Regions from separate parts of the Homo sapiens genome. Here region 2 is linked to region 1. The links are contacts of gene promoters, found by promoter capture Hi-C in blood cells and fetal thymus (Javierre and others, 2016). All regions are on one chromosome and are shown on one strand. Each heading gives the region's core, a stretch centred on a gene start or on the middle of the fragment in contact. The rest is flanking DNA. Distances are from core to core; before and after follow the strand shown. Region 1 holds the start of ASB16-AS1 (ASB16 antisense RNA 1). Region 2 overlaps LSM12 (LSM12 homolog).

Region 1 (7,695 bases), core at 1,872-4,371:
GGTTTCACCATGTTGGTCAGGCTGGTCTCGAACTCCTAACCTCGTGATGCACCCGCCTCGGCCTCCCAAAGTCCCGGGAGCCACTGCACCCGGCCTGAAGGGTGTATTTCTAAGAAAGTATCTACCTGCCCTTGGTAGGGGCTGGATCTTACACTTTGCTGCAGCTCCCATGTCTGCACCAGCCTCCTTAGAGGCAACCAAGGGCTGGGGGATGAGCACAAGCAGCTTCCCACTTCCCAGGCCACTCACCTCTTCAGGGCACCCACGGTATCCTCTGGCCTAGCCACAGCCAGCTCCTCGGTATCATTGAGGAATTTGAGCCGCACAGTGATGAGGCCAGGGCTGGGAGGGAGGCAGGTGCTATCCTCAGATCTCAGGGGGGCCTCTGGACTGCTGCTGCCTGCACCTGCTTGTCTTTTGGGCAGGCCTTGGATGTCAAGGAGATGCTCAAGGCTGGGCTCAACACCACCCCCAGCTCCAGCCTCCCCAGTGGAGTCTCCCCGACCTTCACCCGCCTCTTCAGCCTTCTCATCATTACCCTCTGATGGATGGGGGAGTTCAGTTGGCTCGGGGTTGCCTTGGCCTGCCACCAGGTGGTCCACATGCCCCAGGTGGAGGACGGATGTGTCGCCTGCTGACACAATAGCGCCCAGGAGCTGGTTGCTACCGCTGTCTGCTACGTAGGTAGAGAGCCAAGCTAGGACCAAGGCTAGAATCAGCACCACCACACCTGCCACCACCATCACCTCATTACCCACACCCTCAATGAGGGTGACATCAGAGAGCTCCATGGCCTGGCTGCTGGCAGGGTCCACGCTGCAGGAACAAAGGGGGACAGCATCAGCAGAGCCTGAGGGGTTGCAACCAGGTCTCTAGTTTGTTTAGGTTCTAACTGACCCAGCCCTGAAAAAAAAAAAAAAGGAGTTCAGTGTTGTGTAGAAGGGGGCACAAACCTTCCTAATTCCGGCACCCCAACCTAAACCTAAAGACCTACCCTACCCTTTGCCTCTATTGTGAAACTCTTGCTTTCACGTTCTGTGACCTTCCTCTCTCAAACTCCAACTTCCCAATGAGTGTGGATCAGCAGGAAAAGCCCACAGCCTTGCTGCTGCTGCTACTGTTGTTGCTTTTTTGGTGAATGAGGAAAAATCTTTGCTGAGGCCTGAGTTTCTCTAGGATTTCTATCGCTTGGTCAAGCAAATATGCCTCCTAAGCAGCCTCCAAAGTGGCTTCAGAGAGACCCAAAAGCCTGGAATATTTTACTGTGGGGCCCCCCTGGAAGCACTGTTTAGCCATCCCTGCCAGATTGTCTCATTTGAGCCTATTTCATTCCTGGTCACAGATCCAGGCTGCCAGATGTCAAGAGCCAAAGAAAACTGACCTACCATCAAAAGCAGAGTCAGACAAATCTAAAACGATAACTCTGTAGGGACCGCGGGCAGATACTATGCAGCAGACATTATGTGCCGCCTCTGAAACTTCTGGCAAGCCCTGGGGAGCAACTTGGGACAGACACCAGAAGCACCACCTTCCTGGGTCACCATGGGCCCACTCCTGCAATGACCACTCCCCAAGTGGAGTGATTTGAAAAAGATTCCATAACAGCTCTCACAATCCATATCTCAGTCTCTCTTCTTTCACTGTGAAGGTTCTGCTGCTGCAGTTTCTTAGAAAGGCAGGAAGGGTCCCTGCTTGCTCCTTGGAGTACCTACTATTTCCCTTGGAGAATCTGCTGCTTTCACAGCTGTCCCTGGGCAAATCCAGTCTGGTGATTACCATTATCAGACTATTCTCACAGCACCTATAAAACTTCATTATACTTATGTACCTGTCCATCTTTCTATTAGACTCCTGGTAGACAAGGATCGTATGTATTTCTCTTGGTACTGAAGTGTCCAATATAATGCCCCAGTAGTTGCTCAAAGAATTATCTGTGGAACACATCAACATCCTTATTTAATATACCGGCCCTGGAGTTAGAAAAACAACTAATTATAACCCCAGTCTTGCGTCTTACTAGCTATAACACCTCAGACAACTTTCTCAGAGCCTCAGCTTTCTCATCAGTAAAATGGGGTTAAAAACAGTACCTACCTCATGAGGTTGTTTTGAAGATGACGTGAAATCATCGAAGCAAAATACTTGGCACAGTGCCTGGCACACTGCAAATTGCAATTGCTTAATAACGGTAGTAATTATTTATCACAACCACAACTAACCCCTGATGGTAAGAAGGTTAATGTTATTAACCATGATTTACAGGAAAAGAAACTGCGGCAAAGAAAGACGAAAACGATTGGCACAGACACAGGGAACTCTCGTGGGGAGGGGCCCGGCAGGACCCCAGGTGTCCGGCCTCAGGGGTCTTTGCTCTGTCCCTCAGCCTGTGATCTACCCTGTCCGTACCGTGACCGCACGGTGAGGAGGGGTCCCGCACCCTTTTTCTGAGGCGAAGGTTCCGCTTTTGGATGGTCCTATTCCCTCGGCGTTGGACTGGGGTCCATGGGCCCACCCGAACCGAAGGGCTGCCTGGCCCCAGCCTCCGTGATAAGACCAGTTGTCCCGGCCAGTGAGGAGTAGGGTCGGCTAAGGGGGTCACAAACCGTCCACACCCCTCAAACTTCGGGGCGGGGCTGGGGAACTGGGGGCGGGGCTTCAGGACGCGAGGAGTCATGGGAAATTAAAGGGGGATTGGACCGGCACTGTGCCTGGATGGGGAAGTCCTCACCTGAAAAGACCAGACTAAATGTTTTGACCTCGCCAGGACGGCCCCTGGACTCGTCTTTCCGTAGGGGTCGGGAAAAGGGCTGGCAATCTGCGATTCTGTTCAGGGTCCGGTCTCTTCCGGCTTCTCCCGGAAGCTGTTATACCAGGGACAGGAAGTCCCGCCTCCGCGCCTTGCACTGATGACGCGAAGCTGCGTAAGACGGGCTGACGTAAAAGGTATTCTTTAAATAAAAGGGACAGGTTTCTCAGCGGAAGGAGGGGTGGAGTCATTGTTGGCGGGATTGCGGCCCTCCCAGAGCGGGGCCACGCCTGGTGGGCGGGGCCTTAGGCAATCCAGGGTGAGAGGCGGGGCCAGGGGGGAGGAGTTAGCGCGGAGGTACTTGGGAAAGGGGCGTGGCTTCGCGACTGCGGAAGGTTGCCCGGGCTGGCGCCGCTGGGCAGAGCCGGTGCGACGTTTCCCTTTCCAGCTTTGTTCTTCCGGCCCTGCTGTCTGCCTCCCCGGCTGATTGGATTCGTTACTGCTTTGCAACGCGCACCTAACTCCAGGTTAGCGGGGATTAGTAAGAACTCAGCTCTGGGCCAGTCGGGAAGACAGATAAGGAGACCAGTTAGTCAGCATCCAGTGCTTGAAGAGTGCGGCCCCAGGTAGTGTGGGACCCGGAGAAAGAAGGCGGGAAAGCATTTCAAAGAAGGCACAGATTCGGCGCAGGCTTAGGACACAAAAAGGGGGAAAAGTCCAGCTTTCAAGAACTTATCCAGATTTTTGCAGTTAAAATTTTTTCTTTTTTGAGACGGGAGTTCCGCTCTTGTTGCCCAGGCTGGAGTGCAATGGCGCGATCTCGGCTCACTGCAACCTCCGCCCCCCCGGGTTCAAGCGATTCTTTTGCCTCAGCCTGCCGAGTAGCTGGGATTACAGGCATGCGCCACCACGCCCCGCTAATTTTGTATTTTAGTAGAGACAGGGTTTCTCCATGTTGGTCAGGCTGGTCTCGAACTCCCGACCTCAGGTGATCCGCCCCCGTCTCGGCCTCCCAAAGTGCTGGCATTACAGGCGTGAGCTACCGCGCTCGGCCGCAATTAAAATTTTTTCTAAAAACTTACTGTGGCCGGGGGGAGTGGCTTACTCTTGTAATCCCACCGCTTTGGGAGGCAGAGGTGGGAGGATCGCTTGAGCTCAGGAGTTCGAGGCTGCAGTGAGCTATGATCTGAGCCACTGCATTGCACCCGACAGGGAGGCCTTGTCTCCAAAAAAAAAAAAAAAAGCGCTGGAGTTTGGGGTTTTGGAGAACTACTGATTAAAGGATAAATAATCCAGACAGGGGCAAACATAAGCAAAAAGCTCGGTGGCTTCTACCAACTGAACACTGGCAGAAGTAGCACTTAGATCAAGAAATAGATAATTAGGACTGGCGCGGTGGCTCACGCCTGTAATCCCAACACGTTAGGAGGCTAAGGCAGGCGGATCACAAGGTCAGGAGTTCAAGACCAGCCTGGGTAACATGGTGAAATCCCGTCTCTACTAAAAATACAAAAATTAGCCGGGCGTGGTGGCGCACGCCTGTAATCCTGGCTACTCAGAAGGCTGAGGCAGGAGAATGGCTTGAACCTGGGAGGCGGAGGTTGCAGTGAGCTGAGATGGAGCCACTGCACGCCAGCTGGGGTGACAGAGCGAGACTCTGTCTCAGGAAAAAAAAAAAAAAGAAAGAATTACCCCAGAATCTCCCCCTTCATGTCTTCTTCTAGCCATTAACCTCCAAAGAGTAATCACTATTCTGACGTCTGTCACCATACATTAGTTTTTCCTGTTTTTGTACTTGCTATAAATGGAATCCAACTGTGTATCCTCTTCGGTGTCTAGCTTCTTTTTTGTAAGTCCTTTCATTGTGGTAAAATAAACATAGCTAGGCACAGTGGCATGCACCTGTAGTCCCAGCTACTCTGAAGGCTGACTCAGCAGTGTCACTTGAGCCCAGGAGTTAAAGGCCAGCCTGGGCAACACAGGGAGACCTCTATCTCTAAAGATAAATATATACATATACGTAACATAAAACTTAAAACCATTTTAACTATTTTTAAGTTTGCAATTCAGTGGCATTAAGTACATTCACAAAGCCGGGCACAGTGGCTCATACTTGTAATCCCAGCACTTTGGGAGGCTGAGGCAGGAGGATCCCTTGAGCCAGGAGTTCAAGACCAGCCTGGGCAATATGGTGAGACCCCCATCTCTAAAAAAAAATTAATTAGCTGGGCATGGTGGCGTGTGCCTGTGGTCCCAGCTACTCAGGAGGCTGAAGTGGGATGATTGACCCTAGGAGGTTAAGGCTGCAGTGAGCCATGAGCCAGCTACTCAGGAGGCTGAGGTGGGATGATTGCTTGACCCTAGGGTCAAGATTGCAGAGAGCTGTGATCGCGCCACTATGCTCCAACCTGGGAGACAGAGTGAGACTCCGTCTCAAAATAAAAAAAAATGTAAAGGAAAATAATTGTCTTCAGCTGAGCATGGTGGCTCTAGAGTGTAATTGCAGCACTTGGGGAGGCTAAGGTGGGAGGATCACTTGAGTCCAGGAGTTTGAAACCAGCATGGGCAACATTGCGAGACCCTGTCGCTACAAAAAATTTAAAAATTAGCCAGGCCTGGCGGTGTGTGCCTGTAGTCCCAGCTACTTGGGAGGCTGAGGTGGGAGAATCATTGGAGCCTAGGAGGTCAAGGCTACAGTGAGCTGTGATTGCGTCACTGCACTCCAGCCTGGCATACAGAAAGACCCCGTTTCAATCAATCAATAAAAACCACTCTGGGAGATCTTCCCAAGGCAGTACACATGCTGGTCACTTGGAATCCCTCCCTAGTTCTTTCCTGCCATGGGTAATATGGATTTGTCTAACCACTCCAACATGAGTTGTTGCAAGCAACGCTGAGAGGAATATTCCTGTATGTAGCCTGCCTTTTGTGTAACTGGGAACAGTGTTTAAGGAAGTGGCCAAATTGCCCCCAAAGAGGCGATTTGTCCACCAACAGGATTTGCACACCTGGCCTTGTATCCTGATTTTTTTTTTTTTTTTTTTGGAGACGAGTTTTGCTGTCACCCAGGCTGGAGTGCAGTGGGAGATCTCAGCTCACTGCAACTTCCGCCTCCCAGGTTCAAGTGATTCTCCTGCCTCAACCTACTGAATAGCTGGGAGTATATGTGTGTGCCACCACACCTGGCTAATTTTTGTATTTTTAGTAGGGAAGGGTTTCACCATGTTGGCCAGGCTGGTCTCGAACTCCTGGCCTCAGGTGATCTGCCTGCCTCGGCCTCCGAAAGTGCTGGGATTATAGGCGTGAGCTATCGCGCCTGGCCTACTTTTTGTATTTTTAGTAGAGAAAGGGTTTCACAATGTCAGCCAGGCTGGTCTTGAACTCCTGACCTCAGGCGATCCACCCGCCTCGGCCTCCCCAAGTGCTGGGATTACAGGCGTAAGCCACTGCACCCAGGTATTTTTCTTTTTTAACGGTATCTTTTGTAGTTGTAAATATATCAGAAAAGGCTGAGCTGGCTGTGGTCGGCGTGCTGTAAAGGGGTAGAAAGTTCAGCATTGCCCCTGAGAGTGAGGCTCCCAGCCTCCCTCTCTAGGGAGGAGTTCTTTTTCTTCTGTCAGGCCTTTTGGCTCTGTAAAACTAAAGCACAAATTTTCATCCAGAAAGGGGGTGTTGCATTCTGCATAACAAGGTGAAAAAACTGTCTTTGTGTTGATGAAATGGAATCCCAAAGATATAACTCTCCTGGAGGAGGGAAAGTTGGGCAGCTGCAGCAGGAGGCAGACCCCAGGACTTTGGATCCCTGTCTCCACTGTATAACTCCAACTGGTATTGGGACTGGAGACCCTAGGATCCCTCAGCAAAAAGACTGCTGACTCAGGAGAAGACTGCTGGGAGCTCCTCCCCAGTTCCCTCCTGTGATAGGTACTATAGGTTCTGGGTCTATGAGAGGCTTTGTGTTTCTGTTATTTTTATTCATTTTTTTATTTTTTTTTGAGACGGGGTCTCACTCTGTCGCCCAGGCTGGAGTGCAGTGGCACAATCTCAGCTTGCTGTGACCTCAGCTCTCTGCGACCTCTGCTTGCTGGACTCAAGCGATCCTCCCACCACCTCAGCCTCCTGAGTAGCTGGAACCATCATATGCACCAGCACGCCTGGCTAAGTATTTTGTGTTTTCTTTTTTTTTAATTTCTAGAGACAGGATCTTGTTATGTTGCCCAGGCTGGTCTCAAACTCTAGGACTCAAGTGATCTGCCCCCCTTGGCCTCCCAAAGTGCTGGGATTACAGGCATGAGCCACCGTGCCTGGCCTTTTTTTTTCCCCAGCCTCAGCAACATAGTGAGACCCGTTGTGGTGCATGCCTGTAGTACCACCTACTTGGGAGGAGTATTGCTTGAGTGTGGAAGGTTGAGGCTGCTATGAGCAGTGATCGCGCCACCACACTCCAACCTAGGCAACACAGAGAGCCCCTGTCTCAAAAAAAAATTGTTTTAGGGACAGTGTCTCACTCTTGCCCAGACTGGTCTCAAACTCCTGGGGTCCAGTGATCCTCCTGCCTCAGCCTCCCTTGTAGGTGGGACTACACGGCACCTGGCCCTTGTGTTGTTCTTGTAACAGTTGCTCAATGCAGAAAACTTGGAAACCACAGAACAGCACCAGGGGGTGGGGAATGAACATGGAATGATGGGGACCTCTGTCCCATTTAAGTCAAACAACATCCATACTTTGGTTCCATGGACTAATCATTTATTTGCACTCATAAAAACTGGCTTGCTTTGAAAAGCTTCCTCCAAAAGCTGTATTGTGGTACTTTTGACTCTGGGACAAGAGGAAGAAGTTGGGGAATTCGGGCAGTTGGTGGCTGGGCCCTCAGAGACTGTATGTGGTGACCACTGTTTAAGACACCATTCATCACTTGGGGACGGAGGGAGCACATAGATGGACCCCAG
Region 2 (7,695 bases), core at 3,844-6,343, 140 kb after region 1:
AAACCCCATCTCTTCTCAAAATACAAAAATTAGCTGGGTGTGGTGGCACGTGCCTGTAATACCAGCTACTCTGGAGGCTGAGGCAGTGAGGCAGGAGAATCACTTGAACCCAGGAGGTGGAGGTTATAGTGAGCCTACATCATGCCACTGCACTCCAGCCTGGGCAACAGAGCGAGACTCCATCTCAAAAAAAAAAAAAATGTTCAGGCACAAGCTTTCAGCTAGGGAACAGTTGCCCTGGGGATGCTGATATTCAGAAGATATATTTTTGAGAGCCTATTTGTTGCTAGCTAAGAATAAAGGCTTTGTCTGGGTGCGGTGGCGCATGCCTGTAACCCCAACACTTTGGGAGGCTGAGGCAGGTGGATTACCTGAGGTCAGGAGTTCGAGACCAGCCTGGTCAACATGGCAAAACCCCGTCTCTACTAAAAAAAAAAAAAATACAAAAATTAGCCGGGCATGGTGTCCACATGTCTGTAACCCCAGCTACTTGGGAGGCTGAGGCAGGAGAATCGCTTGAACCCAGGAGGTGGAGGTTGCATTGAGCTGAGATCGTGCCATTGCACTCCAGCCTGGGCAACAAGAGAGAAACTCCATCTCAAAAAAATAAAAATAAAAAGAATGAAGGCTTTCCAAGAGCCTACCCCAGATTCAAAACATAGGGAACATGCAAGGGCCCTTACGATGACAGTTCTTTGCCACTCTGGTCTGCCATCCCTTGACACCCACCAGGCTTGCAGGCGTCATAAGCAGTTCCGGGCAGCAGCTGCAGTGTTTCCTAAGCCCTCTGTGAGGGCAGCTGGTTGGAAGACCCAAATACACAGAGAAGGCAAACTGAGAGTGGCTCATTGGAGTCAGTAGGTCACACCCAGCAGGCTCCTCTCTGGCTTCTCTGTTTCCCTTGTTGTATCAGCTGTCTCAGCCTGTTAAATACTTGTAGTAGGAATCCCTCTGGATTCCCCACGGCACCTGTGCCTTCCTGGTCTGGGCATGTGGAAATAAGATGGCCCAGCTGGTGACTGAATAACAAGATGAAGTGCATATTGCTTGGATTTTGTTCTTTTGGCTCCTCCCTTTTCCTTCCATGTCACTGCGTGCAGACAAGATATGTGTCCTTGGTGTTCATTAAATCACTCACTTGTGGGACGCAGTGGCTCATGCATTTAATCCCAGCACTTTGGGAGGCTGAGGCGGGAGGATTGCTGGAGGCCAGAAGTTCAAGGCCAGCCTGGGCAATATAGCAAGACCCCATCTCTACAAAAATAAAAAAAAGTAGCTGGGTGTGGTGGCGCACACCTATAGTCTCAGCTACTCTGTAGGCTGAGGTGGGAAGATCGCTTGAGCCCAGGAGTTTGTGACTGCATTGTGTAGGATCATGGCACTGCACTCCAGCCTGGGCAGAAGAGTGAGACCCTGTCTCTTAAAAACAAAAACAAACAAACAAAAATAAGGGTTACCCAGCATCAGGCATGATTAGAAGCCGGTTTTTTTTGTTCGTTTTGTTTTTGTTGTTGTTGTTGTTGTTTTTTAAAGACAGAGTCTCTGTCACACAGGCTGGAGTGCAGTGGCACAAGCTCAGCTCACTGCAGCCTCCGTCTCCCGGGTTCAAGTGATTGTCCTGCCTCAGCCTCCCAAGTAGCTGGGACTACAGGTGCACACCACCATGCCCGGTGCTAATTTTTGTATTTTCAGTAGAGACAGGGTTTCACAATGTTGGCCAGGCTAGTCTGAACTCCTGGCCTCAAGTGATCTTCCTGCCTTGGCCTCCCAAAGTGCTGGGATTATAGGAATGAGCCACTGTGCCTGGCCTAGAAGCCTTTTAATATTGATGTGCTTTGATATCGAATGCATATACTTTTCTCCTTTGCCCACATCAAGGTGCTATATATAAAACGGGCACAGGAGGAAACACTGGTTAGTATACAAGGACTGTGTTTTCACTGGGAATCATGCAGAATGAAAGGAGAGCCAGGTAAGCACAGATTGTCATGTGCAGTGATTTCAAGTAAGCCATATGCACATTAATAACAAATATTTGTAAGTTTATGCTTCTTGGTTTGCCTGAACCCAGTGTGTTCTTAAACTTGGTGCTTTTTATTCTTTGAGATGCTAACCAGTTAGTGCTTCTAACTGATTGGTAGTGAGGCCAGCAGCTAGCATGTTTGCATTGAAAATGGGTGTAGTATGGGTGATAGTCATTGAATTTTTATGGTTACTTTTTTTTTTTTTTTTTTTGAGATGGAGTCTCTCTCTGTCACCCAGGCTAGAGTGCAGTGGTGCAAGCTCGGCTAACTGAAACCTCCGCCTCCCGGGTTCAAGCAATTCCTCTGCCTCAGCCTCCCAAGTAGATGGGACTACAGGTGCATGTTACTGTGCCCGGCTAATTTTTGTAATTTTTGTAGAGATGGGGTTTCGCTATGTTGACCAGGCTGGTTTCGAACTCCTGGGCTCAAGTGATCTGCCTGCCTTGGCCTCCCAAAGTGCTGGGATTACAAGCATGAGCCACTGCTCTTGGCCTGGAAAAAATTTTTCTATGTTTTGCTGCATAAAGAAAATGAAAAGACAAGCCATAGACTGGGAGAAATAATTTGCAAAACATACATCTTACAGAGCACTTGTGTCCAGAATGTATAAAGAACTCTTTTTATTTGCGTGTGTGTGTGTGTGTGTGTGTGTGTGTGTGTGTGTGTGTGTGTGTTTAATACGGACACTGTCTATGTTGTCCACACTGGTCTTGAACCCCTGGCTCAAGTGATCGGCCTTCCTCAGCCTCCCAAAGTGCTAGGATTACAGGTGTGAGTGACCACGCCCAGCCAAGAACTCTTAATAAGGCAGCCCGGGCTTGGTGGTTTATGCTTGTAATTCCAGCACTTTGGGAGGCTGAGGTGGGAGGATGATTTGAGATCAGGAGTTTGAGACTAGCCTAGGGAACACAGGGAGACCCCATCGCTACATAAAATTAAAAAAAAAAAAACAGAACAAACAAACCTGCCAGGCATAGTGGTCCTTGCTTGTGGTTCCAGATGCTTGGGAGGCTGAGGTGGGAGGATTGCTTTAGCCAAGGAGGTCAAGGCTGCAGTGAGCCATGATTATGCCAGTACACTCCAGCCTGGGCAACAGAGCAAGACCTATCTCAAAAAAGAAAATAATAATGATAATAAGACAATCCAGGCTGGGCATGGTGGCTCATGCCTGTAATCCCAGCACTTTGGGAGGCCGAGGCAGGTGAATCACCTGAGGTCAGGAGTTTGAGACCAGCCTGGCCAACGTGGTGAAACCCTGTCTTTACTAAAAATACAAAAATTAGCTGGGCGTGGTGGTGTGGGCCTGTAGTCCTAGCTACTCTGGAGGCTGAGGCAGGAGAATTGCTTGAACCTGGGAGGCAGAGGTTGTGGTGAGCTGAGATGGTGCCACTGCACTCCAGTCTGGGTGACAGAGCAAGACTCCATCTCAAAAAAAAGACAGTCCAATTAAAAATGGGCAAAAGCTTTGAATACTGTATCAGAGAAGATACAGTAATTACAAATAAGCACATAAGATGCTTGATATCATTAGACATAAAGGGAAGTACAAGTGAAAACCACAGTGTGAAACTGCTATACTTCTGCTAAAATGGCTGAGATCAGAAAGGCTAACAGTACCCAGTGTTGGTGAGTAGGTGGCAGATTTAGAACTATCAAACATTAGGGCCGGGCGCTGTGGCTTACGCCTGTAATCCCAGCACTTTGGGAGGTCGAGGCGGGTGGATCACGAGGTCAGGAGTTCGAGACCAGCCTGGCCAACATAGTGAAACCCCATCTCTACTAAAAATACAAAAAATTAGCCAGGCGTGGTGGCGGGCGCCTGTAATCCCAGCTACTCGGGAGACTGAGGCAGGAGAATCACTTGAACCCCAGAGGCGGAGGTTGCAGTGAGCCAAGATCGCGCCATTGCACTCCAGCAAAAAAAAAAAAAAAAGAAAAAAAAAAAGAAAACAGTTTGACAGTTCCTTTTTTTTTTTTTTTTTTGAGACGGAGTCTGGCTCTGTTGCCCAGGCTGGAGTGCAGTGGCGCATTAATCTCAGCTCACTGCAAGCTCCGCCTCCTGAGTTCACGCCTTTCTCCTGCCTCAGCCTCCCGAGTAGCTAGGACTACAGGCGCCCGCCACCATCCCCGGCTGATTTTTTGCATTTTTAGTAGAGACGGGGTTTCACCGTGTTAGCCAGGATGGTCTCGATCTCCTGACCCCGTGATCCATCCGCCTCGGCCTCCCAAAGTGCTGGGATTGCAGGCGTGAGCCACTGCACCCGGCCATTTTGTTTTGTTTTTAAGGAAACTTCACTAGCAGGAAAACAATTACTTTAAAAATTAAACATACACTTACCATATGACCCAGAAATTCTACTCTTAGTTATCTACCTAACAAAAGTAAAAACATGTCCACACACAGAGACTTTTTACTTTTAAAAAGCAAAATCTTTTTACTTTTAAAAAGTAAAACGTTGGCTGGGCATGGTGACTCACACCTGTAATCCCAGCACTTTGGGAGGCCGAGGCGGGCGGATCATGAGGTCAGGAGATCAAGACCATCCTGGCTAACAGGGTGAAACCCTGTCTCTACTAAAAATACAAAAATTATCCGGGCGTGGTGGCGGGCGCCTGTAGTCCCAGCTACTCGGGAGGCTGAGGCAGGAGAATGGCGTGAACCCAGGAGGCGGAGCTTGCAGTGAGCCAAGATCGCGCCACTGCACTCCAACCTGGGAGACAGAGCGAGACTCCGTCTCAAAAAAAAAAAAAAAAAAGTAAAATATTTTTACTTTTACATACACAAAGACTTGTGTGTGACTGCTGCCAAAAACTGGAAACAGCCGGGTAGGGTGGCTCATGCCTGTAATCCCAGCACCTTAGGAGGCCAAGGTGGGTGGATCGTTTGAGCTCAGGAGTTCAAGACTATCCTGGGCAATACGGTGAAACCCTGTCTCTACAAAAAAATACAACACCTTAGCTGGGCGTGGTGGTGTGCTTCTGTGGTCCCAGCTACTTGGGAAGCTGAAGTGGGAGGATTGCTTGAGCCCAGTGGGTGGAGGTTGCAGTGGGCTGAGATTGTGCCATTACATTCCAGCCTGGGTGATAGAGTGAGACTCTGTTTCAGAAAACACAAAAAACAAAACTGGAAACAATTCAGATTTTGATCAACTGTCCATCAACTAGTGAATGAATATATAAAAGGTAGAACTGTATCCTCATAGTGGAATGCTTCCTAGCAATTTAAAAAACTATTGGTACATGAAACAAAATGGATGAACCTCAGAAATGTGCTAAGTGGAAGAAGCCAGAGACGTAAGTCAACACATTGTATCATTCCATTTATATGAAATATCTAGTAAAGGAAAAACTATAGAAATAGATTTAAGGCCAGGCATGGTGGCTTACGCTTGTAATCCCAGCACTTTGGGAGGCTGAGGCGGGCAGATCACGAGGTCAGGAGTTCGAGACCAGCCTGACCAACATGGTGAACCCCTGTCTCTACTAAAAATACAAAAATTAGCCAGGCGTGGTGGTGGGCACCTGTAATCCCAGCTACTTGGGAGGCTGAGGCAGGAGAATCCCTTGAACCTGGGAGGCGGAGGTTGCAGTGAGCTGAGATCGCACCACTGCACTCCAGCCTGGGCGACAGAGCAAGACTTTGTCTCAAAAAAAAAGAAATAGATTTTAAAAAGTAATCTTGGTGGCCCTCCCAAGCCTAAAAGGCACATTCTACACTTTCTCTACTGAGGGCAGCTTTTATTGGTTCTCTCCAGTGGTTTGGCAAAAACCATAAACTTACTAACTTGGAATAATTGGGCCATTTATAGGTATATAGTCATTTGCAAAAATATGTGGGAAAATTTAGATTTGTACAGCAGCTAAATTGAGGGTAGAGTGATAATCGTTTGCTTTACAAAAGAAGGCATATTCATGTTCTGCATGAGTTTTCATGACAAAAAAGGGCAAGGTAATCTCCTTCTCCCCACCCTCAATTTTGAAAAAAGGAAACACTTCTAGTTTCTTTTATTGAGAGCGGTCTCCCCCATTGATGGGGACCCCTAATTGATGGGGTCCTCTCTAGGAGATTTTATCCCATTTGTACAGCTTCCTGGTAAAAGCAGATCTGTGTAGCTGAGTCCGGATCCCTAAAGCATTACTGTAGGTTGAGTATATTGGGGGCAAACTGAAAATATATACAGTCAGCTTACAGTCATTTCTGCTGACTTTTCTAAGTGCTCCCTTACATCATTTAGCATTTGGGATGTTTGCATTAGAATTGAAATAGAGAATTGTCTAGTCCATTCTCCTTTGCTTTTGGAGACTTTAGGGGAGATTGCACTTGCACAACTGGTATTTTGGCGGGGGTGGGGGGTGTATTTTGAAATCATTGTTCTATAACCAGTGTGTCATTGTTACTCAGCCTGTCTAAAGAATCACTTCTGGCTGAGATTTATATCCATTTTATTTTCTCTCTGGCAAAAATTCAAGTGGCTCTTCTTCCAGCTTTTTTTTCTCCCCTTCTCTAGCTTAATTTGTCAGTTCCATTCTTAAACATTCTGCATAGATGCCTGGTTTCCTGAGCCAACTCTTGTCTCTTACTAAATGGGGTGATGTTATGTTTTTAAGCTGCTATGTAGGTGACAACGACATTTTACTCTTTGAACGTTCAGACTATCTAGTCAACACAAGCTTTATAGAAGCAGCTTTCTCTGACCCAGCATTCGGAGATGATTTGGATTTTCAGGAATAAACGTTTTTAAAGGGGATTGAGGTTTCAAAGTGAGATCTTCCAGCCTGCTTATAAGGTAAATGCCCGCCTGTCCACTAGATGCTTCCCAGGAGCTCTGCCACCCTCCAGTTTTTCCTTCTTTCCTTAAAGACTTCAGATTTTTTTTTTTTTTTTTAATAGAGGCAGGGTCCCACTATGTTGCCCAGGCTGGTCTGTAACTACTGGGCTCAAGTGATCTTCCTCCCTCAGCCTCCCAAAATGCTGGGATTACAGGCGTGAGCCACAGCGCTGGCCGACTTCAGATTTTCTTAAGGCATTGTTTGGAAAGCAAGATTCAAGGAAACTCCTCCTTAGGTTGCAGTGAGCTGAGATTGCACCACTGCACCAGCCTGGGCCACAGAGCAAGACTCCATCTCAAAAAAAAAAAAAAAAAGGAAACTCCTCCTTGTTACCGGGGTTTTTTTGGTGCTTGAGTAAGCGTTGCTTGTTGCTGCTTAAAATACATCATCAGCAGCTCTTTCCATAGAAACTACAAGGCTTTCTTGTTACAGTTGGGATTGCCACTGCTTGGAATGCTGTCAGCCTGTGTGTTTATTTGTCTGTAAAGTTATAGCCTGGTAGGGCCAGAATGGCAGCCAGTCTTGAAAGATTATATATATATTGCTGCTGTATTTGTCTCTCTCCATGTCCTAGAGATCCTGTGAAAAAGGAGCTCTGGCTTCAGATCACTGCAGGGTTTTGCCATTCTTCCCTCTCTTACCCGGGGAGGCTGAAATGACAGCGTGAGCTGGCCTTCTGTGCTCACGCCTGCTCCTCCTTCCTAAGACAGTCTTTGAAACTTGCAAGGACAAGAATACCCATGGCAATTGAAGGCCTCCTTTTTTTTCATAGTCAAACCTAAGCCTTGAGAAAGTGCTTAATTTTATAAACAAAGAATTAGACACTTGGTTTACTTCCTCT

The links. Contacts are between HindIII fragments. The CHiCAGO score rates a contact against its expected background, and 5 or more counts as called.
Region 2: a contact is called between a fragment that was not itself captured here and the fragment with the promoter of ASB16-AS1 in region 1, in 1 of 17 cell types (erythroblasts). The highest score is 5.6, in erythroblasts.

The regions. Positions count from the first base shown.
Region 1 is chr17:44,182,143-44,189,837 of GRCh38, reverse strand. It overlaps ASB16-AS1 (ASB16 antisense RNA 1), which reads left to right and starts at 3,121. Exons shown (of 3, transcript NR_049730.1): 1 at 3,121-3,273. TMUB2 (transmembrane and ubiquitin like domain containing 2) reads right to left here and starts at 2,866. Exons shown (of 4, transcript NM_001076674.3): 1 at 2,729-2,866; 2 at 2,095-2,162; 3 at 250-816. The coding sequence starts at 2,129. RefSeq lists an enhancer at 3,008-3,542. The HindIII fragment of the contact is 11,845 bases long and covers 1-7,531 here.
Region 2 is chr17:44,043,022-44,050,716 of GRCh38, reverse strand. The region is part of intron 2 of LSM12 (LSM12 homolog); the gene reads left to right. Among named protein-coding and RNA genes, the nearest start is that of LSM12, 20 kb to the left of the region's middle. The HindIII fragment of the contact is 3,208 bases long and covers 3,490-6,697 here.